Regions from separate parts of the Homo sapiens genome. Here all the other regions are linked to region 2. Evidence: promoter capture Hi-C in 16 types of primary human blood cells and fetal thymus (Javierre and others, 2016). All regions are on one chromosome and are shown on one strand. The core of a region is centred on a gene start or on the middle of the fragment in contact, and the rest is flanking DNA. Distances in the headings are between cores, read along the strand shown.

The links. Contacts are between HindIII fragments. The CHiCAGO score rates a contact against its expected background, and 5 or more counts as called.
Region 1: a contact is called between a fragment that was not itself captured here and the fragment with the promoter of RNF183 in region 2, in 5 of 17 cell types (naive B cells, activated CD4 T cells, naive CD8 T cells and 2 more). The highest score is 6.4, in naive B cells.
Region 3: a fragment that was not itself captured here is called in contact with the fragment with the promoter of RNF183 in region 2 in 14 of 17 cell types (fetal thymus, naive CD4 T cells, total CD4 T cells and 11 more); the score reaches 10.7 in fetal thymus.
Region 4: a fragment that was not itself captured here is called in contact with the fragment with the promoter of RNF183 in region 2 in 4 of 17 cell types (erythroblasts, naive CD4 T cells, naive B cells and 1 more); the score reaches 7.3 in erythroblasts.

What each region holds. Positions count from the first base shown.
Region 1 is chr9:113,664,907-113,671,719 of GRCh38, reverse strand. The region is part of intron 2 of LOC105376223 (a long non-coding RNA gene); the gene reads right to left. Among named protein-coding and RNA genes, the nearest start is that of RGS3, 200 kb to the right of the region's middle. The HindIII fragment of the contact is 3,704 bases long and covers 2,248-5,951 here.
Region 2 is chr9:113,300,590-113,307,150 of GRCh38, reverse strand. RNF183 (ring finger protein 183) reads left to right here and starts at 3,775. Exons shown (of 5, transcript NM_001371237.1): 1 at 3,775-4,095; 2 at 4,838-4,956; 3 at 5,400-5,479. RefSeq lists an enhancer at 1,335-1,504. The HindIII fragment of the contact is 12,929 bases long and covers 1-3,894 here.
Region 3 is chr9:113,642,770-113,649,337 of GRCh38, reverse strand. It overlaps LOC105376223 (a long non-coding RNA gene), which reads right to left and starts at 1,463. Exons shown (of 3, transcript XR_930254.3): 1 at 1,336-1,463. RefSeq lists enhancers at 1-157, 158-658. The HindIII fragment of the contact is 4,085 bases long and covers 1,099-5,183 here.
Region 4 is chr9:113,623,697-113,630,102 of GRCh38, reverse strand. LOC105376222 (a long non-coding RNA gene) reads right to left here. Exons shown (of 4, transcript XR_007061739.1): 2 at 5,745-6,406; 3 at 4,364-4,658; 4 at 1,312-3,468. Among named protein-coding and RNA genes, the nearest start is that of RGS3, 160 kb to the right of the region's middle. The HindIII fragment of the contact is 859 bases long and covers 2,927-3,785 here.

The DNA.
Region 1 (6,813 bases), core at 2,850-5,349, 360 kb before region 2:
AGTACAGTCTTCCATCTATCTAACAAGACCTAACAAGGTCATCGGCGTGTGGGATCAAGAGACGCAAATGGCTGCTTCAAGGGAACTCACGGAGAAAACAATTGCCTGGAGATGAGTTTGTGCATCTGAAAGTGTGCCCGTTGTGGGAGAGGATCTCCATGCCCAGCCTGTCCGCCCTGTGAACGCTCATCACGCCTTCCTGCCTGGGCCTTCAGCTTTATTTTTGTGTGTTATTAAGTCTTGGGTTCAGAGGGAGATCCAGAACTCAGTGGCCCAAACTGGTGACCAGTATGGGATCTCTCTCTGTGGGCGCTGAGCGTGTTGGCTTTGTAGATTCACTCTGGGAAGCCCTGGACCGAACGCTCTCACCCATGGGGACCTAGTGCATCCAAGGATGGCCTTTTTGTTCCTTTGAGAGGCACTATGCCTTCCAAGAAATCCATTTGTCCCCCCAGGATGACACAGGATACGACCCCTTCCCCAGGAATCAAACCACTCGTTCCCTCAGGATTGGGTCATTTATTGATGCCCCTGTTCAGCAACTACAGTCATGTGCCATAGGACGTTTCAGTCGATGACAGACCGCATATAAGTTGGTGGTCCCATCAGATGATAATACTGCATTTTTACCGTCCATTTTCTATGTTTAGACACACAAATACTTACCATTGTGTTACAGTCACCTACAGTCTTCAGTACAGTGCCGCAAGTGCAGGTTAGTAGCCTAGGACCCACAGGCTAGACCATGTAGCCTAGGTGTGTGGCAGCCTCTACCATCTAGGTTTGTGTGAGTACACTTTTATGACATTTGCACAAAATCACCTAATGACGCATTTCTCAGAACGCATCCCCATTTGTTAAGCGACACATGACTATACTTAAGAGCATGGACAACAAGCCAGGGTCTGGGCCAGGTGTGGGGATTCAGCAAGAAGCAAGACTGGCTTGGTCCTTCCTTCAGGACACTGACAGTTCAGGGGACAAGTAATTACAACTGCAGTGAATGTTGTGAGTGGTAAGCACATCAGTGGGGCAAGAGCGTGGACCAGAGCGAGTGATCAGGGGGCCCAGACCCCCTAAGGAAAAGTGACTTGTAAGCCACACCCCCAAGATAAGGAGGAGGGGATGGAAGAGCCTCCTGGGCTCAGCTAGCGGTGCGTGCAGCGTTACCCTGAAGGCCTAGTCCTTACCGTGTTGGGCACTGAGACTGGCATGTTAGAGGAAATGCTTTTGCAGCTGAACCGTGGACTCAACAGAGGAGAGGAAGTAGAAGAAATAGACAAAGCCAGTTTTGGTAGCCCTTGTAGGCATGAGCCCTTTGGCTTCATTCTGAGGATAACAGAAGACCATGAAAGTATTTTGGAGGAATTGCCTTTTCCTTTTGGTTCCAGAGAGATCCTTTTGGTTCCATGATAGTGATGGATTGTAGGGAGCGGATGCAGGGCAACTCCAGCATTGAGATTGGCTCCTTTTGGATACTCAATTGCTATTTCAGATTATTCAGCTACTTTTGAGTAGAATAAAAGAACTGGGCCACAAAACATCAATTGTGAAAAGTGGAGAAGCATGACACAAATTAAGGAATTATTGGGTGAAATCTGGCTTGAGGGAAATAGATTAATCAGGAGGGCACCTAGTGTAACAACCAACCTCAAAATTTTCAAAGGCAAAACACCATAAAAGTTTAGTTTTGCTCATACAACCATCCCCCAAGGGTGTTTCTGGTTATAAAGCTCTCCTGGATGGCTCTCCTCCAGGGGGTGACTCGGGATCCAAGCTCCTTCTAGCTTGCGGTGCTGTGGGATTTTCTGCATCTGGCCAGCAGATGATGTAAGAATGTGGAGATTCGCATGAGGAGGTTTTCACAAATCAGGCCTGGAAGCAGAGTATGTCACCTCCATCCACATTCTATTGACCAGAACCTGAAGACAGGCCTGCACCTCACTGCAAGGAGGCTGGGTAATGCAGGCTACATGTAAGCCCAAGAGGAAAAGGGAAGTGGTTTGGGGGAAACTAGCCTATCTCTGTCACAGAGGAGCTGCCACTGGGAAACTCAGACCCGGAGAGGAAAAGTTGTTTGCTGATGGTTACCCTTCAGGTTGGTGACAGCAAGGAGACCAGAATCTTACAATTCTTGATTCTCAAATCCATCATTTTCCCCTTTTCTGTAGTGGGCATGCTTATCAATATGTGGTGAGGTCATGCTGCTCTGAAGTGTCAGGAAATAGAAAATCAGTCCAGCAAGCTTTTATGAGGGCCTGCTATTGCAATTGGTAGAAAGACAACAAATAGGCCGGAGGCGGTGGCTCACGCCTGTAATCCCGACACTTTGGGAGGCTGAGGCAGGGGGATCACAAGGTCAGGAGATCGAGACCATCCTGGCCAACATGGTGAAACCCCATCTCTAATGAAAATACAAAAATCAGCCAGGCATGATGGTGCGCACCTGTAGTCCCAGCGACTCAGGAGGCTGAGGCAGGAGAATCACTTGAACGCAGGAGGTGGAGGCTGCAGTAAGCTGAGATTGCGCCACTGCAGTCCAGCCTGGGCAACAGAGCAAGACTCTGAGAAAGAAAGAAAGAAAGAAAGAGAGAGAGAGAGAGAGAGAAGGAAGGAAGGAAGGAAGGAAGGAAGGAAGGAAGGAAGGAAGGAAGGAAGGAAGGAAGGAAGGAAGGAAGGAAAGAGAAAGAGAGAGAGAGAGAGAGAGGGAGAGAGGGAGGGAGGGAGGGAGGAAAGAAAGAGAGAAAAGAAAGAAAGAAGGAAGGAAGGAAGGAAGGAGAAAGAGAGAGAGAAAGCAAGAAAGAGACAAATATATGATTTTCTGCCTTCAAGTAGCTCACTGTTTCCCAGGCAAAGGGGACCATGTGCCAGGGGCATTCAGAGTAGAAAAGAAATGGTATCCGGCCCCTTAGGAGACAGCGGTGAGCTGAGCCTCAAAGGGCAGGCAGGGCTTTTGTGTTTGTTTCAATTTTGTTGTGTTTCTGGGGTTTTTTGTTAGTGTTGTTGTTTTGGTTTTTGTGCTTTTTCTAGTTTTCATGGAGGTGCCATTTGGGCTATAGGGCCCTGGCAGTTAAGGACATTAAATATTTATTCACAACCCAGCGTGACCTCTCCTGGATGTCTATCTCAGAGACATCTCCTCTCACACCCTGCGTCTCGCATCTTATGGTACAAAAAGAAGCCCTGCCGCCCCTTGAGGCTACTCCAGCAGTGTAGTTTGGAGGATCAGGGACTTTGAGACCACCAGGGTGTCCATTGCTGAAGAAATGCATGAGAAAAATGTGGTGAATTCTCACCATGGAAAAACATTGTGCATGGTTATAAGCAACTATTACAGACCATTGAATATACTTCGGTGCTAAGAGAGGAAAGAAAAAAAAAAACCAGACTGAGAGCTACGGCACGGAATTAGTCATGTTAATTAAAAGCAGATATACACAGAATAGCACAACATGTTTTATAAGGATTCATGCATATTTAAGAACATATATCAAATACATGAGGGAAAATGCCCATGGGGGAAACAGAATGGTGGTGGGAATCAGGGATAAATGAGAAAAAGGTTAAAAAAAAAAAAACCCAAACCCACAAAAAAGGTTGTGTGCAGTTCAACAGTGAGAATGTGCCAGGGGCTGGGAGATGAGTACCTTTGCTCTCTGTAGCTGAGTCTGATAAAAACAGAAAGATGGTCGGTGGCGGTGGCTCACGCCTGTAATCCCAACACTTTGGGAGGCCGAGGCAGCCGGATCACCTGAGGTCAGGAGTTCGAGACCAGCCTGACCAACACAGAGAAACCCCGTCTCTACTAAAAATACAAAATTAGCCAGGCATGGTGGGGCATGCCTGTAATCTCAGCTACTCAGGAGGCTGAGGCAGGAGAATTTCCTGAACCTGGGGGGCAGAGGTTGTGGTGAACCGAGATCGTGCCATTGCACTGCACTCCAGCATGGGCAACAAGAGTGAAACTCTGTCAAAAAAAAAAAAAAAAGTCCTGGTGCAGTGGCTCACACCTGTAATCCCAGCACTTTGGGAGGCCGAGGCGGGCGGATCACGAGGTCAGGAGATCAAGACCATCCTGGCTAACACAGTGAAACCCCATCTGTACTAAAAATACAAAAAAATGAGTCGGGCTTGGTGGCGGGCGCCTGTAGTCCCAGCTACTCGGGAGGCTGAAGCAGGAGAATGGCATGAACCTGGGAGGCAGAGCTTGCAGTGAGCCGAGATCGAGCCACTGCACTCCAGCCTGGGTGACAGAGCAAGACTCCGTCTCAAAAAAAAAAAAAAATCTAAACAGGGAAAGGGCAACCCAAGGTAGCAGGGTACCACACATAAGCCAAGACCTGGAATCTTCTTCCCCCAACTCTTCACTTAACCAGCTCCTTCTTATCTTCAGTCCTTGATCTGAACGTCCCCTCCCGAGAGAAGCTGGACCTGCTTGCCTTATATAAAATGCCCTCATCATTCCCTATCGTAGTCCTGTACTCTCTTGCGTATGCAACACACACTTTGTAATTTAAAATGCAGCTGCTTATTTATGGTCTGTTTTCCTCACCAATCAGCAAACTCTCTAAGGGCAGAAAGTCATTTTGTCTTACTGCCCAGCACACCAGCAGGGCCACACCTAGAATTAGTTTCAGCTCTAGGTCAAGCACATCACATGTATTGGCTTATTAAGCTCCCATCCCAGCTCTATGAGATGGGTCCTATTATTCTCTCTATTTTATAGAATGGAAACTTGGACACAGAGAGGTTTAGCAAATTGCCTAACACCACACAGCTGGAAAGTAGATGAGCTTGGATTTGACCCCAGACAGTCTGGCCCTGGAGTTCATGTTCATATCCGCTTGCTATACCACCTCTCCATACCACATTCACAGGGTGTACAGTGACTGAGTGAAAGAATGAATAAATGCAGGGGAGAACGGGGAGGTGGCCTGGATGATTACACCAGCATTAACAAACACGTTTGGGTGCAGCTTCCATTTCTAAGTTGTTATGCTCTAAAGAGTTATTTTTCCTCTAAGATGATAATCTTAATAAATTATAGAAAATTCTTTAGCTATTGCTTTTTATGTTATGGCCTGGGGTGGAGCACAGGAGAGTGATGAATGACTTTTTAAATTTCTTCACATTGGGTTAAAGAACTCTCCAAGACAAGACCTCATGTAGAATCTATAATTAATTATTATTCACACTTAATACAGTTAGATAATGTGAACACATACTTTCCATTAATTTATGTGGCCGATTCCTCATCATTTTCCCATAGGTATAGTTCACTGATTTCTCGAGTTATTAAAAATTAAAATTCATATTAGGGAGTTAGAGGAGCCTGGTGTCCCTATGCCTATTTTTAGTCTAAAGTCACAAGCTGGGTGGGAGCTTAACGCAACTGCTTCCTTTGGACAATTCTTTTGTTGTTGTTGTTGAGATGGGATCTTACTGTGTTGCTCAGGCAGGTCTCAAAGTCCTGGCCTCGAGCAATCCTCCTGCCTTGGCTTCCCAAAGCCCTGGGATTACAGGTGCCAACACCGTGCCTGGCCTATTTTATTTATTTATTTATTTATTTATTGACAATTCTAAATTAAAGGGAGTGGGTGCATTTACTCTTTTATTTGTTAATTCCTTAAAGGTTGACCAGTGACAGTTGATTGGTGACAATCCTGGGCCCACATGCTTGGGGGTCTACAGGGAAGACCAACAGGTGTCTGTTCCCAGTGAGCCCACTGCCTGCTGGGGAAGGCGGACAACGACCAGCTGCTGAGTGCTACCCAGGAGGCTGGGGACGAAGGGTACCTGGCCTAGACTGGGGAACGGGCAGGAGAAGGCGATGTCCGAGCTGACGCTTGGAGGGAGAGTGGGAGTTAGACAGATGGAGAAGGAAGGGAAAGGCATTCCAGGAGCAGAAACAGCATGTGCAAAGCATAGGAGGTAAGAAAGGCATGGAAGCTTCCAGAAGGCCAAATACTTCATGGGGGGAAGCACAAACATGGGGCAGTGGGAGTGAATGCTGGAGAGGGGCAGGGGGCATCATAAGAAAGTGCTGAAGAAAAAGAGAGAGGATGGTACTTTCCAGAAACCTCCATACAGGGATCTAAACACTTAGGGTGATCACAGATCCTTGAAGCTCATAGAGACCAACTCACTCATTATAAAGGTGAGGAAACTGAGGCCCACCTGCTTTAAAAACAAAAACAAAAAACCTTCATATCCAATGAATTCATCCCTGCCAAGGTCTCTGGGGCTAATACTCTCCATATGGCAGGGGCATTTACATTCCAGTTCCTGGGCACTACTCAGAAGGGACTTTCAAGAGGCGTGACATTGCAGACAGGAGCCCAACACTTCCCACTCAGGAAGCTCTGCAGGTGGAATTTTTCAGATCAGAGAATTGCAGGTGCCCTCCTGGTTACAACACAACCAGAGCCACTCCTGATTTGCATATTCTGCATAACTTTGCATAAAGCATTGACAAGCCTCAGAGCCTGTAAAAATAAAACTAATTAGAGTAGTGTCTTGCCCTAGTATCCAGACTTTGCATCTAAGAGGAGGGGAAGGGTCATCTTTGTCCTCTCTACTGCCCACTTGAGTACAGCTATTGGGGCTGGTCAGGGAGAGAAAGAGCCAAGGACAGTACTGACTTGGAGTCAGGCTGGGCTCTAATCTCAGCATTTCTGCTTCCTATGTGTGCAACCTTGAGAAAACCATGTCACTCACTGAAATTCAGTAAGGGGCCACCAACCCTATATATACAAAGGAGTGAGTAGAGTCATATGCTCTAGTATGTCCAGCATGCCTGCCACAATGTCCAAC
Region 2 (6,561 bases), core at 2,526-5,025:
GCCTGGCTAATTTCTGTATTTTTAGTAGAGACGGGGTTTCACCATGTTGGCCAGGCTGGCCTCGAACTCCTGACCTCAAGTGATCTGCCTGCCTCGGCCTCCCAAAGTGCTGGGATTACAGGCCATGCCTGGCTATGACTTATTTTATTTTTATTTCAATGCTTACAATGTCATGACTGACTTCTTACCTGCCCTACCTGCTTATCTTTTTAAGTTCTGGATACCCTGGTTGCAGAAAACTCAGACTTAACTTACTTTCTAAGTGAACTTTCTTACTACAAAAGTAATACATATTTGAGAACTTGGAAAATGTAAGCAAGAAGAAAGCGAAAACATGAGTGGCCATCACCCAGAGATAAAATTGTGACATTTTGCCTCATGGTCTTGCAGTCTTTATACATAAATTATGCTTTACAAAATCTGGCTTATGCTACATTCTCTCTTTCTTTCCTTTTCTTTTCTTTTCCTTCCCCTCCCTCCCTCCCTCCCTTCCTTCCTTCCTCCTTCCCTCCCTTCCTTTCTTCCTCCCTCCCTCCCTTCCTTCCTTCTTCTTTCCTTCCTTCCTTCTCCCTCTCTTTTCTTCTTTTCTTTCTTTTTTTCTTTTCTATCTTTCACAGGGTCTTTGCTCTGTTGCCCAGGCTAGAGTGCAGTGGTGCAATCTGGGCTCACTGCAGCCTTGACTTTCTGGGCTCAAGTGATCCTCCCACTTCAGCCTTCTGAGTATCTGAGACAACAGGCATGTGCCACCACGCCCAGCTAATTTTTTATTTTTTTATTTTTTGTAGCAATGGGGTCGCTAGTCTTGAACTCCTGGGCTCAAGCAATCCTCCAACCTCGGCCTCCCAAAGTGCTGGGATTATAGGCATGTGCCCAGCCAACATGCACCGTTTTTTTGTTTTGTTTTGTTTTGGTTTTGGTTTGTTTGTTTGTGTTTTTTTTGAGATGGATTCTCTCTCTGTTGCCTGGGCTGGAATGCAGTGGTGCAATCTCGGCTCACTGCAACCTCCGCCTCCCAGGTTCAAGCGATTCTCCTGCCTCCTTAGCCTCCCAAGTAGCTGGGATTACAGGCACCTGCCACCACGCCCAGCTAAGTTTTTTTTTTTTTTGTATTTTTTAGTAGAGACGGGGTTTCAACATATTGGCCAGGCTGGTCTCAAACTCCTGACCTTGTGATCCGCCTGCCTCGGCCTCCCAAAGTGCTGGGATTACAGGCGTAAGCCACCGTATCCGGCCAACATGCACCATTTTTAAGCTGCTTTCCCCCTCCATTTACAGTATACTGTGACCATTTTTAAAAGTCAATGAAAATCTTTCTATATCATTTTAAATGATTATGTAGTTTTTCACCTAATTGATGGGGTTTTGGAGTGTTTTCAATCATTTGTGATTAAAATAAAACTGCAATGAATATCCTCACTCAACCAAAATATATCTTTTTGATGCTTCTGGGGAATTACATGATTAGGTCAAAGTAGATGAACTTCTTTATGTTTTCTTATGTTGCCAAGCCAGAAAGCGTGACTTCCAAACTCTCAAATACAAACCAGGTTCTTTGGACTAAATCAGTGTCTCGAATCCCCAGTAACCTCAGTTAACCAGTAGTGACACCGAAAAGCAGGGAATTCCAGAGCTGAGAGGAACTTTGAGGCCATCGGTGATCATATACCTCGTCTCCAGCTCAGAAAGAGGAGAATTACTTAGACATTTTCTTTAGAGATCTAAAACTTCCCAAAGTCCACAGTTTTATTTTCACACAATTCTAGGCTAACTTAAAATCAGCATTTTTGCATTATTCTTTCATTCAATATTTATATATTTATAATGAGGGGGTTAGATCAATAGGGGATTGGTGAAGTGATTTATGGTACAGCCATTCAATGAAATCTGATACAACCATTAAAAAACCGAAGAAGGTCTTCTTTTTTTTTTTTTGCTCTGTCGCCCAGGCTGGAGTGCAGTGGTACAATCTCAGCTCACTGCAACCTCTGCCTCCCAGGTTCAAGCGATTCTCCTGCCTCAGCCTCCTGAGTAGCTGGGACTACAGGTGTGCACCATGACGCCGGCTAATTTTTGTATTTTTAGTAGAGACGGGGTTTCACCATGTTGGCCAGGCTGGTCTTGAACTCCTGACCTCAAGTGATCCACCCGCCTTGGCCTCCCAAAGTGCTGGGATTACAGGTGTGAGTCACAGCGCTGGGCCAAAAACCGAAGAAGGTCTTTATGTACTAATACAGAATGATATCTCAAATACATCATCAAATGAAAAAAGAAAAATGCAGAACAGTGTACATAATATGCACATTTGTGTAAAAAGGAGGTAAAGGAATACATAGATGTTTTGCCATGGACATGCTGTTTGTGTATGTATAAAACATCTTTGGAAAGATACACAACAAACTGATAGTATAATACTTTGATTTCCAGGGAAACTAGGTGGCTGCGAAGAGACAGTTTTCACTGTGAAATCAAACCATTCACATGCTCAACCATGTAAATATATTACCTATTTAAAAATCAAATGTGGGCACGGTGGCTCAAGTGTAATCTTAGCACTTTTGGCAAGTGGATTGCTGGAGCCCAGGAGTTTGAGACCAGCCTAGGCAACCTGGAGAAACCCCATCTCTACAAGAAATACAAAAATTAGCCAGCCACGGTGGCATGCACCTGTAGTCCTAGGTACTCAGGAGGCGGAGGTGGGAAGACTGCTTGACCCCAGGAGGTTGAGGCTGCAGTGAGCTGTGATCGTGCCACCGCACCCCAGCCTGGATGATAGAGTGAGACTCTGTCTCAAAATAAATCAATACATAAAAATTAATGTAAAAAAACACAAAATGCGGGGACTAGGGCATTTGATTACATCACCAAGCAGATACATTTATTTACTTGTTTATTTCTCAAGTATGGCTGAAAATGTCAGTAAAGAAATAAGGGGCCAGGCGCGGTGGCTCATGCCTGTAATCTCAGCACTTTGGGAGGTCGAGGCAGGTGGATCACCTGAGGTCAGGAGTTTGAGACCAGCCTGGCCAACAAGGCGAAATCCTGTCTCTACTAAGAATGTAAAAATTAGCCGGGCATGGTAGCGCGCACCTGTAGTCCCAGTTACTCGGGAGGCCGTGGCAGGAGAATTGCTGGAACCAGGGAGGTGGGGGTTACAGTGAGCCAGTATCGCCCCACTGCACTCTAGCCTGGGCGACAGAGCAAAACTACGTCTTAAAAAAAAAAAAAAAAAAGAAAGAAAAAAAAAAAGAAAGAAAGAGAGAGAGAAAGAAAAGAGGACCATAGGTACAAAAAGAATTTGAGCGGGAACAAAAGATGGGCCACGTGAACAGACCGGTTATAACAATAATAGTTCTGGTTAACATTTAGCGAGTTACTGTCTGCCAGGCCCTGTGTTATTACGCGATCTCGACACGTATTACCTCATTTAATCTACAGATCAAGTAGGTAGGTTATTATGGCCATTTTCAGGTGAGGAAACTGAGGCTGGCAGAAGTTAATTAATTTGCTCAAGTCTCCATCGGTAGTTAAACGGAGTTTGGATTCTCAGTGAGGGCTGAACTCTGACCTAGAAGTGTGCCTTGCTTGAGAACCCTGGCTCTTCAGGCAGACGCTCAACCGTCTCCCGACTATTTTTCTGCTGTATTAGTGGCCGCTTTTGTCAGTATTTTGCAAGAGCTATCTGTATTTTGGTTACAGGGACTCAGCATAGGGAAGGATCCATCTCGGCAGAAGCCAGGAGTCGAGGCAGGTCAGCGCACAGAGGACAGTGGAATCCGAGGGGATGGCAGGAGATCAATCGGACCCAGAACAGAGGCCTGCAAGGATGAGCGCACTTGATCCCCTCAGAGAAAAAGCCAGAGTGACTCACAGGAGAAAGACAAAGCAACCAAAGCTTCCAGGGTGTACAGGAGGTCCAAAGTCACCAGAAGGAAGAAGAAAACCTGAAACAGCGAGAGCTGGCCAAACGCTGCTAAGACCTATGCAAATAAGACCCACCCACGCTACCTGGAAATCGGGCCTGGGAAGTCAGAAAACAAAGCACATGCGTGCAGGGCTGCACGAACGGAGGCGGAGGAGGCGGCTCCGAGGGAGCAGGTAAGGAGACAGAGAGGGTCGCGGAGGGACGGGTCACAGGGCTCCAGAGTCCAGAGAGGCAGCAGCCGTGCAGCGCGCGACAGGTGAACTCTGGCCTGGGAGGGCAGGCTACTGGGTTCATCTTTCAAACTCAGCCACTCTTTAGCTGGGAAGACTTCGGCAAGTTGCCTCACCCTTCTGAGCCTTGGCTTCCCCATCTAGAAAATGGGTCTAAAAATAATCATGCTAACTCTGTATTGAGCGCCTTCCGTATTCTACTGGGCACCGTATAGACTATTCCTTCCCCAGAGCAACCTTGTAGGAGTGGGATGATTAGCCTTTTTTACAGAGGAAAATGAAGTTCAGAGAGGTTAAGCCATTTGTCCAAGACAAATTGTTCCAAATCTGGTTCCAAAGCCGGCACCTTTCTACTCCCCATTCAGCCTCTCTCACAGGGTGGTTTTAGAGTATCAAATGGCTTTCTGCAAACAACAACAAAAAATCCCAAAAGGCTAGTAACCTATCTAGATGGATCACCACACTTAGATCTTAGCAAGGGCCAGGGCCCTTTGTAAACTGTGAAGTGCTATGGAAATGCCAGTTCTTGGTTGAAAACAATGGAGTGATGCTGGGGACAATTGATATTTGGCGATGACTTGTTCATAGACCAAGGAGATGACTTTGGGGCGGTGTTTAGGATTTACTGTAGCTGAGATGTCCTGGCTTGGGGTGGAGGTGATACATGGCCAGAATCTCTCCCCAGCTGATCCTGAAACAGCAGTGGATCCCTGGGAGAGCAGCACAGATAAAGATCCAGGCAATAATGATGCTTCCTCCTCTTGGACAGCCTTTTACAGTTCTGGCCATGGAACTTCAGAGAAGGTAGGTCTGATTTGGGGGGAAACAGGAGATCTTGACGTGTAGTAATACAAGCTTACTGGATGGAGTAAAGTTAGAATTTTCAGGTAAGAGAATTAAAAAAAAAAAAAAAACTTATAATCTTGCCCCCAGAGATAACCACTGCTAATATCTGGTTGTTTATCTCTCCAGACATTTTTTCCATTGCACACACACTTTTGGAAATTGGATTATATGGTAATATGGTTTTGTTGCTGGTTCTTTTTCGCTTAATGACATTATATCCTAGGTATATATCCATATTAATAGTTTTACCACATCATATTAAAGGCTGCATAATATCTCTTCCTATGGATGGAGCAGAATCTACTTAATCAATGTCCTATTACTGGATGATGACGTAGTTCTCCATACGTCACCGTTAAACCAGCGCCTGGATGGGCATCTCTTTACTCACATCTTTGCAGAAGTCCTTGATGGTTTCCGTGGAATCGATTCCCAGTGGGGGAAATGATGAGTCAAGGTTACATACAGTTTACGGCCTCTGGTAAGTATTAAAGATCTGCTTCTAACACACTCTGGGATTCAGGGGCTTCTCAAAGCTTGATGCAGAGGACTTTGTCACGGCTTTGAAATCAACCTTGACCCTTCCTTTCTCTCAAATCCATTTGCATTAATAATTTCAACTGCCTCATATATCCATAACAATGTTTTGATCAACAGTGAATTACATATGTGATGGTGGCCACCTAAGATTATAATACCATATATTTACCTTGCCTTTTCTAAGTTTATGTTGAAAGACACACGCAATTATCATTGTGTTACAATTGCCTACAGTGTTCAGAACATAATAAGCTGTATGGGTTTGTAGCCTAGGAGCAACAGGCTAGACCGTATAGCCTAGGCATGTAGCAGGCTCTACCATCTAGGTTTGTGTAAATACTCTCTGTGCTGTTCATACAACGATGTGTTTCTGAGAACATAGTCCCATTTTTAGGTCATGCATTGCTTTGTGGTCTTTACTGGGTGCTGGGCTCTAACTAAAAGCTTTACTAGTTTTGGCTTCCTTTGCACAAGGAGAAATAGAGGCACAGAGAGGTCAAGCAATTCAACTGGAATCACAGCCCTAAATAGCCATGGATCTGGCATCATGAACCTTGACAGAAACTACAACTGGATCCCTAGAACTCCACTGCTTCTTGGGAAGTGGCTTTGATTCTGTCCCCAAAGATATCACTTATCCCATCCCCTTTTATCTCCTCTGCCACTGCCTAACCTGCACCACCATCACACGCCTGAGCCACACTGCTGCAGCCCGAACGGGTGTTCCCTTCCCGATCTTATCCCTCTCAGCCTGTCCTCTGCTCTGCAGCTAGAATGGTGTTTTAAAAATGGAAATAGGATCAGGTACCTTACCCTACCGCTCACCCCTGGAATAAAATCCAGATGAGCTCCTGAGTTCACAGGTCCCGAGTACTATACCCTCCCACCTTGCCTACTCCGGTCACCACACCTTGATCACCCTGGGCTCCTTTCACTTTCTCAAATTGGAAGAGCTTTTCTCACCTCGGGGCCACACATGCTGTTCCCTGGGCCTGCAACGCTCTTCCTCCACTGTGCGTGGCT
Region 3 (6,568 bases), core at 1,892-4,391, 340 kb before region 2:
GAAAGGCTCTTCTGGGCAGCGGGCCAAAGGCAGCCCAGGCACATCTGCTTCCACTCAGTGCCCTCAGCCGGCCGCTCTGCCAAGGCCTTGGCCCACAGCCTCTCAGGCTCTCAGGGGCCTGGAGAGAGCGCTGGGTCCCATTATGGGGGAGACAAAGGCCCCTGGCAGGACAACACTTGTAGCTTGCACGTGGCTCTCCCGGCCCTGCACCAGCAGCCAGGCCTGCTCCCAGCCCAGACACCAGGAGGCCAGCCAGGGCAGATGCTTAGTGACTCAGGTGGCAGAAAGAGAGCCCACGAGTGTTTTACGCAGATGCAGGTCCTACAGGGCTGAGGGGCAGGGAGGGAAGGGCAGCCACTCAGAGGTGTGGCTGCTGGAGGGGAGGCTGAGGGGCAACCTGGGCCTGGTGGTGGAGGAAGGTGTTGGTTTTGGCATCAGACCTGAGTTTGAATCCTCGCTCTGCCACCTCCTAGTGGGGCAACCTCAGGCACACCCTTCGCCCTGTCTGGTTTCTCATCTGGAAGACGGGATGATGATGTTACCAAGTCTCACGATCACTGTGAGAATTACGTAAGTCCAGGCATGCAAAATGTCTTACATGTAGTGATGCCAAGCCAATAGTAGTTGCTGTGGTTATTCTTATTATTATTACTACTATAGACATTCGTGTTGGGGAGAATGAAGGAGGTCCCGGTTTTATATCCTGCTCCCAATACATTGCCCCAAACAGCAAGCAGACAGGCATCTAGAAAGATGCCACTACAGCCACAACACAAAGGGACAGAGAAGTCCTATGGGGACTGGGTAGGTGGAAACAGCTGGGAGGTAGAGGCGGGGCCCTGAGGCCTGTCCTGTCCATATCCCACTGTGTAGCCCCAGTCCACCTTGACCTCACAGGGCTTCAGACCTGAGTTCAGGCTCTGACCTGAGTTCTGAGACTCTGGAGGTCTTCACTCAGCAGCATGGTTATAAAATCTATTTTAAGAGTGAAGGACAATGGAGCAAGCCCTGTGGGTCTCCTGGGACAGAATGGCCTGACCCTCTCTACCAGAGCAGTGCGACTTCCCAGCAAGGGCATGGCCACTAGGTCAACAAGCTTTCAGCCAGTCTTGAGAACCTCATTTCTAATGGCAAGGGCAGCCTCAGGGTCTAGGGTTCCTCTGGGGACAGGGGACAGGGGACAGGCTGATGTGGTAGCTGCTTTCTATGAGGCTGCACTTCTGGGATGTGGCACTTAAAGGGAGGGGACTGACCACTCACGGGCACAGTGTCATTCTTTCCCCAAGAATTGTGATGGTTTATTAGTTGACGTAGAAATATTTGCTGAACACTTACTTTGCATTCTGGGACAAAGGTGGTCCAAGCAGAGCAGGGCTGTGGCTGAGAAAAACCAGGGAACAACTGTTGCCCTCAGAATGGTCAGGGAGGGCTCCTCCAAGGAGGCATCAATGCATGAGAAGGCACTAGGTAGAAAGAAGGAGGCAGAGATAAATATACCCCAATTTTTCTCCTTTCTCTGTGTCCAGATCTTTTGCCCAGTGATCTTATAGCTGGTTCTTATCACTAAAAGGGCAGAGTCTAGCACCAGGCGCAGTGACTCATGCCTGTAATCCCAGTACTTTGGGAGGCTGAGACAGGAGAATCACTTGAGCCCAGGAGTTCGAGACCAGCCTGGACAACATACAGAGACCCCCATCTCTAGAAAAAATAATTAGTCAGGCATGGTGGCAAACGCCTGTAGTCTCAGCTCAGGAGGCTGAGACAGGAGGATCGCTTGAGCCCAGGAGGGCAAGGATGCAGTGAGCCATGACTGCACCACTGCACTCCAGCCTGGGCAACAGAGCAGGACCCTGTCTCAAAAAAAAAAAAAAGAGGCAGAGTCTGTTTCCCCACCCTTTACTCTGGCCCTGGCCATGTGGTTTTCTTTGGGCAGTAGGATGTTAGGAAATGACCCACACAGAGGCTGAAAACATGCTTCAGGATTCTGCCTTTTTCCTTGGACTCCTGCCTTCACCCCAGCAGGCCTGCTAGGGAGAAGGAAAGGCACATGGAAGAGAAGCCTGGTTATCTAAGTCACCCCAGCCAAGACTAGCCCAGACCAACCAACTGTCCATCAACCACCAACACGTGAGGGAGCCCAGCCGAGATCAAGATCCACAGAACCACCTGCTCCACCCGCAGCTGCCTGCAAATGCTTGAGTGAACTAGCCAAGACCAACCGAGATCCACCAGTGCCACCAAATCGGCAGAGCTGCCCAGCCCACCCACCGCCTCCCAAGAAACCACAAATGGTTGTTGTTTCAAGTCACTAGGTTTTGGAGTGTTTTGTTACCCAGCAGTTAACTGAGACTGATAACTGATACAGGGGGAGGGCATTCCAAGCAGTGGGAACAGCAATTGCTCAGAGATAAGAAAGAGCTGGGTGAGTTGTGAGAAACTGAAAAGAAGGCCAGCATAACTGGAATGCAGTGAAGGACCAGGAGGGAGAGAGAAAATGAGATCCCGGAGGTGAACGGGAGTCAGATCACGCAGGGCCTTGAAGGCCATTGAAAGGGCTTGGACATTTTTTAAGTACAGTGAAAGCCAGCGGTAGGTTTTAAGAACATAGTGGAGCCAGGCAGCAGGAGGCAGGGGCCAGGGCAGGGAAACCAGTGCAGGCATTTGATGCAATTAACTTTAAACCTCCGTCTGGCCACCCTCGGGGGATGGATTAGAAGGACCAGGAGCAGAAATGGAAAGACCAGTTATGGGGCTCTCCCCTTTGCAAAACAGGTCTCAGGCACTGTTCACACCAACCCTGCAAAGTGTACATATGGGGAAACCGAGGCTGAGGGAAGGGGAGCAAATTGCCCATGGTCATACAGTGAATCCCATGGCAAGGGTAAGATTGGGACCCTGGGCTCCTGATTTCTAGTCCAGAATTTTCTCTCCTGTTCCCCTTGGGCTTTACCAAGGAGCCAGAGGAAAGAGGTTCACCCCCACCCCGACGCTCACACACTATGCCTCTAATGCCGTCTGCCATCTCTCCATCCAACCACCTCTCTGCCCATTTCTAACACTGGATGAAATTTCTTCTTCCCCACACTATCCTCAGTCCCCTCAGACTTTCATCTCTGGTGCTTAGGGCTGATTTGGGTTTAACTGTGATTCTTTCTGTCTTGAACAGCTTCCTAACTAACCATTCACTGCAAGGCACCCTCCACCCAGCTGCCAGAGGGATCCTTCTGGCTCTGCTCCAGAATTCTCCATGCCTGCCATTGCCTTCAGAATAAAGTCCAATCTCCCTAGCCTGGCAATCGAGTACCTCCGCGATTGGGCCACCTCTCCAGCTTGAAGAGCATGAACTCTACAGTTGGATTGTCTGGGATTCAAACTCCACTCTATTTGTGGGACAGGAAGCAATCTCCTAGACTCTCTGAGCCTCTACTTCCTTGAAGCTAAAATGGGTACAGCAATAGGACTCATCTTGCCCAATCATGGTAAGAACTGACTCACCTGCCTGCCGGTACCTGGCTTGTAACAAGGGCTCAGTGAATGGCTGCCCTGTCGCCGCTGCCCTCCCTGGCAGGGTCAGTTCTCATGAAACTGCACTCTGCGGGGGGTCCCTTCAGTCACCAGCATTCATGTTGTGTTTCTGTTTCCACCATCATGAAGGTGAGAGTCAGGAACTTTGGTCCTATAGAGCAGCAGTCCCCAACTTTTTGGCACCAGGGACGTTTCGTGGAAGACAATTTTTCCACAGACAGGAGATGGGGATGGGGAGGGATGGTTTTGGGATGAAACTGTTCCACCTCAGATCATCAGGCATTAGTTAGATTCCCATAAGGCGTGCAGCCTAGATCCCTCGCATGCGCAGTCCACAACAGGGTTCGCAATCCTATGAGCATCTAAGGGCTCTGCTGATCTAACAGGAGGCGGGGCTCTAGCAGTAAAGCTCACTCACCCGCAGCTCACCTCCTGCTGTGCCTCCCGGCTCCTAACAGGCCACAGACTGGTACCAGGGGTTAGGGACCCCTGCTATAGAGGACAAGAAGTTTAGATTTCCCAGGTTCGTGAGTCTCAGAGTTTGTGAATATTTTATCTGTGCACACGCATGGTAACCTCCTTGAGAACCAGACCCACATCTAGTGGGGGTGTGACCTGTTCACTCACCCAAGCAGGGGGCCTCAAAACCAGGCTTGCCTCCAAGCCCTCCCAGCTCACCTGGCTAGGCCACCCTTCTCCATAAGATCATTCCATGGGTCTCATGGCCCTTTCCTGCCCTGGAGACTCAGATGGAACCACCTTATCCACCCTGCAACTGAAGCAGATCCTGTAGTTAATTGAGAAATCCTTCCAATGACCTCCTTAATCAGGCAGAGTACTATACTATCTTCTAAAGGCTTTTTACCCAAGTAGTCATCCCTGCTCTGTACCTACTCAATTTGCAAGAGATCTAAGGGAGTGACTATCTACACCGGAACCCCAAAGACCGAAGCCTTCTGGCTCTACCTTCTGATTAATAGCCTGATTAAGAAGGCCATTCAAGGTATTCTCAGTTAACTGAGGGATCTGCTTCAAGATGATTTTATGATCCCACTTCTCTTGATTAAAAAAAAACTAATGAGTCTCTGCCTTCTCAGGTACCCTATTACATCTGGATCATCTGATTTTTCTTGTAATATACACAATCTCGTTTGTGTAAGAACACATTATAAAAATGATTTAAACCATCAGTAAGAATATCAGCAGTGCTATCAACCAACTGAACTTAATTGACATTTAAGGAATGCTCCACCCAACAACAGCAGAATACACATTATCCAAGCACACATGGAGCATTCACTAAGACAGATCACATGCTGGGCCATAAAAAAGTCTCAACAATTTTTAAGAGATTGAATTATGCAGAGTATGACCTCTGGCTACAACAGAATTAAACTGGAAATCAGTAACGGAAAGATATTTTGAAAATTTCTAAATATTTGGAAATTAAAGTCATTATAAATAACACATGGATCAAATAAGAAATCACAAGGCAAATAAGAAACATTTTGAACCAAATAAAAATGAAAACACTGTATATTAAAATGAGTGGGATGTAGCTAAGAGAGTGCCTGAAGGGAAATGCATAGCTTTAAATGTTTATATTAGAAAAAAGATAGGGTTAAAATCAATAATGTAAGCTCCCACCTGAAGAAGCTTAAAAAAGAAGAGTAAATAAACCCAAAAGAAGGAGAAGGGAGGAATTATTAGTGAATAGAAATCAATGAACTAGAAGGAGAGAAAACAAATGGAGTAAATCTATAAAACCAAAAGATGGAAAAAAATAATAAATCTCTAACCAGACTGATCAAGGCAAAAAAAAAAAAAGAATAAAGACACAATTACCAATATCAGGAACTCAAAAGGTACATCAACATAGATCCTAGCAGGATAATAAGGGGATTTTACAAATAGCTTTTTCCCAAAAAATTTGACAACTCAGTGAAATGGAAAAGTTTCTTGAAAGACAGAAATTACCAAAACTTAACTTAAAAAGAAATAGAAAATCTGAAAACTTCTATATCTATTATGGAATTGGATTTGTAATTAAAAGTTGCAAACAAAACAAATTCCAGACTTAGATGGCTTAATGATAAATTCTATCAGACATTTAAGGAAAAATAACACAAATATTATACAAACTCTTTCAAAATGAGTTGGAGAATTTTCCAACTCATTTTGTGAGGTCAGCATTCCCATGACACCAAAACTAGACAAAGACAATGCAAGAAAAAGAAGGAAGGAAGGAAAGAAGGCAGGGAGAGAAGAAGGAACCACAAAACAATGTTCCTCATAACCAGAGAGGCAAAAATGTTTATATTTTAGCAAACTGAATCCAGAAGTGTATAAAATGACTGACTACATTTATCCCAGGAACACAAAATTGGTTTGACATTTGAAAATCAATTAATATTAATCACAATATTGGATAGAATAAATGAGAAGAGCCATATAATTATTTCAATAAATTCAGGAAAAAAATGACAGAACTCAACGGTCATGCATGATTTGAAACTCTCAGCAAGCCTGAAATAGAAGAAAATTCTTCAATTTGACAAAAAGTATCTATTAAAAACCTCATGTAAAAATCATATTTAATGGTGAAGATTTCTTTCTCACTAAAACTGGTAACAAGTCAAAATATCCATTCTCACCACTTAGATTCTATACCATACAGGAGGCACTAACCAATGCAATAAAGCATGAAACAGAAATAAAATACACAATCCCAGCAAAATACATACATATGGGATGAGACAGAGTAAAACAATATTTTAAAATGAAAACACAAGCCCCATAATTGTATACATAGAAAATCCTAAGAAATCTAATAAAAAGCAACTAGAACTAATGAGTGAGTTTAGCACAGTTCCAAGATATAAAGTCAATGTTCAAAACTGAATTGTATTTCTATGTACTGGTAATGAACACTTAAATATTGAATTTACAAAATACCATTTACAGACGTGTCCAAAAAACATGATATATATAATGATATATTTAACAAAATATATGTAATACTCTAGGAGAAAAACTATAAAAC
Region 4 (6,406 bases), core at 2,107-4,606, 320 kb before region 2:
TGTTGTACAACTATCACCACTACCTAATTCTAGAACATTTCTATCATCCCCAAAAGAAATCTTATACCTATTAACAGGTCGGTGCAAAAGTAATTGCAGTTTTTGACGTTTTTTATTTTAAGTGGCCAAAACCGCAATTACTTCTGCACTGACCTAATACTAGCCAATCCCCAACTCCCCTTCCCCTCATTTCCTGGCAACGAATCTGCTTTCTATCTGTCTGCATTTGGCACCTGGATAGGTTATATAATTGGAATTCTACAACATTTGACTATTTGTAACTGGCTTCTTTCATTTGGCATAATACTTTCAAGGTTAAACATTTCAAGTTGTAGCATAAATCAGTACTTCATTCTTTTTTATGGCTAAATAATACTCCACTGTTTAGACAGATCACATTTTGTGTATCCCTTTAGCAGTTGATCAACATTTGAGTTTTTTCTACTCTTTGAAAATTATTAATCATGTGCTGTGAGCATTCATTTACAGGTTTTTGCGTGAATATATTTCCACTTCTCTTGGATCTATACCTCGGAGTGAAATTTCTGAGTCCTGTGGTCAATATTTTTTATTTTTTTCTCTTTTTGAGACGGAGTCCGGCTCTGTTGCACAGGCTGGAGTGCAGTGGCGCTATCTTGGCTCATTGCAACCTCTGCCTCCCGGGTTCAAGCAATTCTCCTGCCTCAGCCTCCTGAGTAGCTGGGATTATGGGCACGTGCCAACACACCTGGCTAATTTTTGTATTTTTAGTAGAGATGGGGTTTCACCATCTTGGTCAGGCTGGTCTTGAACTCCTGACCTCAGGTGATCCACCTGCCTCATAACTCCCAAAGTGCTGGGATTACAAACATGAGCCACCGTGCCCGGCCCCTATGGTAAATCTATGTTTAGTTTTTTGAGGAACTGCCAGATTCCACATCCACTTCCAATTTCTCCACATCCTCACCAAAAACAGTTATTTTCCCTTTTTTAAAAGTTACAGCCATCCTAGTGAGTGTAAAGTGGCAATTCATCATGGTTTTGATTTGCATTTGCCTAACGACTAATGCTGTTGGTCATGGATATGCTTTTAAATTATGATTTTAATTGCCATGCAAATTCCATTGTAGGTTACTATATTTTTAATTGGCTATTATTGAATATTCAAGTTGTTTCTATTTTTTCAAATTCACTCATACATATAAGCCTTTGTGAATCATAATCATCTCTGATTCAATGACATTCATCCATTCACTCACTTATTCAATAGCTATCTACCAAGCCAGGCCTGTTCTAGGTGTTATTGCACAGTACTGAGCAAGACAAAACAGATCTGATCTCTGCCCGCCTACAGCAGACGGTCCAGTGATTTATTAAATGTTTGTGCAAATAAGTCGATCAGCAGGCTGACAAGTATCAGTAAAGAAACACACAGGGCACATATGTAAGAGGAGCGCATCATTCAGAGTGGGTGGCCAGGAAAAGCCAGCCAGGGGTGGGAGATGGGGAAGAGCATTCCAAATAGAGGGAACAGCATATGCAAAGCTGTTGAGAAACTAACAGAGACCTGAGTGCCCGGAGACGGGGGCAAGAGCAAAGAGGGAGGTGAGGGCTAAGGTGGAGGGAATGGAAGCGGAGGTAGGCTGGACTGTGCTGATTGGCAGCCCGCTGCGGGAGGGCTGAATACATTGACAATTGTTTTATTTCCAATGTGCCATTTAAAAATAGCAAAGAAGGAATGAAGAGAAGGAAGAAGTGGGGGAGAGGGGATTTCTGAGGATGGAACACTTAAACAAATGGGGTCCTGCCCTATCTGTGCCTACACTGGCCAAGGTGAGCATCTGTCAGTTGTCCAGCCCGTCAGTCACCTGCCACTGTCTATGCCTAATCTCAACAGCTTACACCACACATGATACTGAGTGATCTCTACCCCTGGCCAAGTGGGTATTGTGACCTAACAGCAGTCAATCTTGAAGTTGGCCAGTGGGCTGAGAAGTGGCCTGGTGTGGTATAAAATATAAATATTTGGTCTTGGTCTCTAATTCCTGGCACAGAGCTCCTAAAACCCCTGAACGTATTGCCTTTCATATGCTAATGAGATGACTTATGGAGGAGCCCTAGAGAGCTTCATGATGAGGGCTGGTTACCCCCACACCCCCTACAGCCTCCATGGGGGTAAGATGGGCTGGAGATTGAATTCAATCGCCAATGGCCAATGATTTAATCCATCATAATGAAACTGCAAGAAAAACCCCTAAACAACAGGGTTTGGGAGCTTCAGGGCTGGTGAACACAGGGACTCGCTGGGAGGGCGTGGAAGCTTTGTGCAAATCCCCCATGTTTTGTTCCCTGCATCTCTTCCATGAGTCTGTTCTTGAGTAGTATCCTTTATAATCCACTGGTAATAGTAAGTAAAGCACTTGCTGAGTTTTGTGAATTGTTCTAGTGAATGATCTAACTAGAAGGGGAGGTTATGGGAACCCTGAAATTCAGAGCCAGGCAGTCAGATGTACAGATGGTCCCTGGACTTGTGTGTGACTGGTGGCTAAAGGGGGACAGCCCTGTGGGGCTGAGCCCTAAACCTTGGGGTCTGCACTAACTCCTGGAGTTGGTGTCAGAATTGAACTGAATAATTGAACACCTAGCTGGAGTTAGGGAATCAGAGACCTCATATAAGAACTCACTTAATCCTTGGCCTGTCCTGGTGGGGGACTTCCAAACCAATCAAGTCCTCCCTCTGGGAGCATTGAGTGTAAGTTAAGAAGTTGGGAGTGAGAGTCGAAGCAGGAAAGATTCACAAAGGGAAGCAAAGAGAAACTGGGCTACAGAAGCCATGAGCTCACCGGAACTGGACAGCAAGAGAAACTACAATGAGGCAGAGGCCTCAAGAAGCAGAAGGCATGTGACAGAAAGGGGAGGAGAAGATGCAGGAGAGGAAGGGCAAGCTTCCTCTACCTATAGGGGCAGGTAGAGGAAGAGGCAAGCTGATCACCAGAGAAGGGCTGGAGATGACAAATTAGCCTGGATCTGAACAACTCTCCACTTCTCCTAAGAGCTTTCTAGGCTCTGAGAGCCCTGGCTAGGCTACGGCTGAGGTTCTGTTTCCCTCATTTCCTCCTGGAGTCTGCTGCAAGTGACCTGGCAGTGTCTGCTCCTTACGCTGTCTCTGGTTCCAGGCACGTGGGCCTGGGCTTGGCTCAGAACTCCCCAGCCTCGTTTTGCAGAAAAGGGATCTAGGAGAAGGAGAAAGCTCTGTAGAAAGGCATAGGAAATCCTCAGGGCGGGGCCGCCATGGAGAACAGGGGTGCTGGGGTTGGCATAGGGGTCCAGTGGGTGCAGCTCAGAGATCCAGGAGCCAAGAAGCACAGATTTGACTCTGAGTCACTGGAGGCCCCCGAGAAAAGGCTGTGCCCTCTCTGGGTCTCAGTTTCCCCATCTCTGAAAGTAGGTGACTTCTGCATCCCATTCCAGCATGAATATTTGTTGAATCTGTGACATGAGAGGAAAAATCATTTGCAAAAGAAAGAGCCAGAAACTTAGAAATCCAGTAGGCCAACACATGTTTGAGAAACACAACATCGAACATTCAAGATAACTAATACAATTTCATTTCAAAAATCTGAAGTTTAAAACTGCATAACGTCGAGATATTTGAAATACTGGGCTCTGAGGGCCGGTGGGAGGAGAGGGCTCAGGTCTGCTGACGAATGTCCTCCTCTACACCAAGAGGACAGCATCCACTCCAAGGCCAACAGAGCCCCAAAATGAAATCCCTCAAATTCCACAACGTCAGAAGAGTTCAAGCTTCTTAAAGTTCCCCAGGTTTAAAGATGCTCCAGATTCTAAAATGTCCAAGATTTCAAAAGATCCTGAAAGCTCTGAAGTTTCCCAGGTTCTCAAACTTTCATAGGTCTCAACTTCCCAAATTCTAAAAGTCCCAAATACACACTGTGAGCCTAGTCGGGATCTGGCTTGAGAAACTTGAAAGCACAGGGGCCACCATCTTTACTATCTGCTTTTTCTCCAGCCAGAGGCTGAGGCCCTCCCTTTGGGCATAGCTGTCCCTGAGGGTGAGGGAAGCAGGCAGTGTTTTCTGTGATCAGGGTGGTCCCCAAGTGGAGTAAGTTGGGCCTTCATCCTTCTCCATGCCTCCGGGAGCCCTAACCCTTCTCTCAGTAAGGACAGCTACTGTCTGGGGTCCTGGGCCCCCAGACTCACCTTGTCATTCATTCCCAATGGCTCTGTCCTCAAGAGCTTACAGTCTAGCGGGGCCACAAACAAGCAAGAGAAAGGGTCCCTTGAAAGGATGTTCACAGGGCAGTGGCCCGGCCAGGTGTGACCCCCTCTGGGGGGCCTGAGCTCCTGCCCTGCATGACGTCCTCACCTGCCGGCTGCACGCAGGTTACATCCCAAGGATGCCAGTCATCAGCTCCAGCCTCAGGAGGAAGCATCTTAGAGGCTCCAGTCCACGGCAGGTCAGAGGGCATCTCCAAGACCGCTGCCTGCCTTGGCTTCTGCTGTTTTGGACCTGCTGGTCCAACTGCCCATCCCAGGCCTGAGCCTCCACCTCGGCCCCATCAGGGCATCTCCAGCTCAGCTTCTGCTCTGGTTCTGCTGCTCCCTGAGCCAGGCCCCCACTTTCCAGCTCTGATCCTTCATAGGATGACTGTACCTCAAGTCTCAGGAGAGATGGAAGATGCCCGAGGTCAGCTCCCACCCCCGAAGTCAGGACCCCTCCCCAAAGGGCTGTTGGGTGGCACCAGGTGGAGGGAGAAGAGACTTTGGAGGGAGCACTGGCCCAGAACTCAGACTTAACTATATATCCCCAGGCTGCAATCTCTGGAAACATCCATTTCCTCCACTATAAAGGGGAATTTTAATTCCTACCCGACTCGGTAGTAGGGGAATTGGGTGACCGGCTGCCTCCCTACTTGTTAAAGGACCCTTCAGATGTACTCCCCTTCCTTTCCGTTCCCAAACCCCCAAACCCTGAGTGAGTGTTGGGAGCTGAAAATGTCAGTCTCCCCGGAATCAGCAGCACATAAGGGGTGGAGAGTCAGAGAATGGGTTTTAACACAAACACTAATTGTGGATCCCAGAATGGCCTCCCTGGCTCCATTCATGAGACTGGTATTTTTAGCCCAGGATCGGCTGCCTGTGGCCCCAGAGGGGGTGGCCAGGCCGTGTGTCATGTCTGAGTGATGATGGACTCACTTTGCCCAGGAAAAAAGCCCACAGGGGACTGCTGCCAGATCCCAGGGTTGCCACCGCATCCGGGAGGAGACAGATGTTCAGTTAAACCCTCTCATCCCCGAGGGGCACACTACAGGGTGTCAGGAATGATAGCAATAATTAATATGCATTAAGTGGGAGGCCGAGGCGGGCGGATCACAAGGTCAGGAGATCGAGACCATCCTGGCTAACACGGTGAAACCCCATCTCTAATAAAAATACAAAAAAATTAGCCGGGCGTGGTGGCGGGCGCCTGTAGTCCCAGCTACTTGGGAGGCTGAGGCAGGAGAATGGCGTGAACCTGGCAGGCGGACCTTGCAGTGAGCCGAGATCACGCCACTGCACTCCAGCCTGGGTGACAGAGCAAGACTCCATCTCAGAAAAAAAAAAATGCATTAAGCATTTCCTAGGTATCCAGCACTGTCGCGGCTTTACAGGCATTAACTTATTTAATCATTACTATGAGGTAGATACTATTATTATCCCCATTTTATAGATGAGAAAACTGCAGCTGGAGCAGTTAATTAACCTACTTGAGTCCACACCACAGTAGCGAGTGGAGCAGGGGGATTTAAAGCCAGGCAATCAAACTCCAAAGTCCATGCTCTTTCTGCCTGGTCACTTGGAATCTGGACCAGGAGTGGACAGTCTTCAATGGCCAGTAGGTCCTCCTGCCTCAGCCCATTGAGTTTTCTGGGATTGCAGAGTACATCCGGTCCTTCCCTCCTGCAGAGGTAAGGAAATTGAGGCCCACCATGATGCCCAAGGTTAAGGAGCCATTTGGCCCTAATTCCCAAACCACAACTTTTCCCACTGAATGACTCCATGGGACAAGTTCATTTTGTCACCCGCTCGCCTCCTCAGCCTATCCCCAGCTCCCAGATCAGATGAGCTTGCTTTAGGGCAAAGAGCCTGGACTCTGGATGCAGATGTGAGCCCCGATTTTGACGTGCTATGTGACCTTGGGCAAGTCAGCTCACCTCTCAGAACTTCAGTTTTCCCCTCTGTAAAATAGGCGTGATTGGGCTATCTTCATAAGGCTGTGTGGTGGGTATAAATTGTCTGGAGATTCATCAAATATGGGTTTCCTTACCTTGGGCTCCTTGAACTATTAATCCCCACTGTAAACAAGACACATGGTATACACCTGCCCAGGGTTACTCCTGGAAATGGAAGATCTGGTGATGGAATTGTA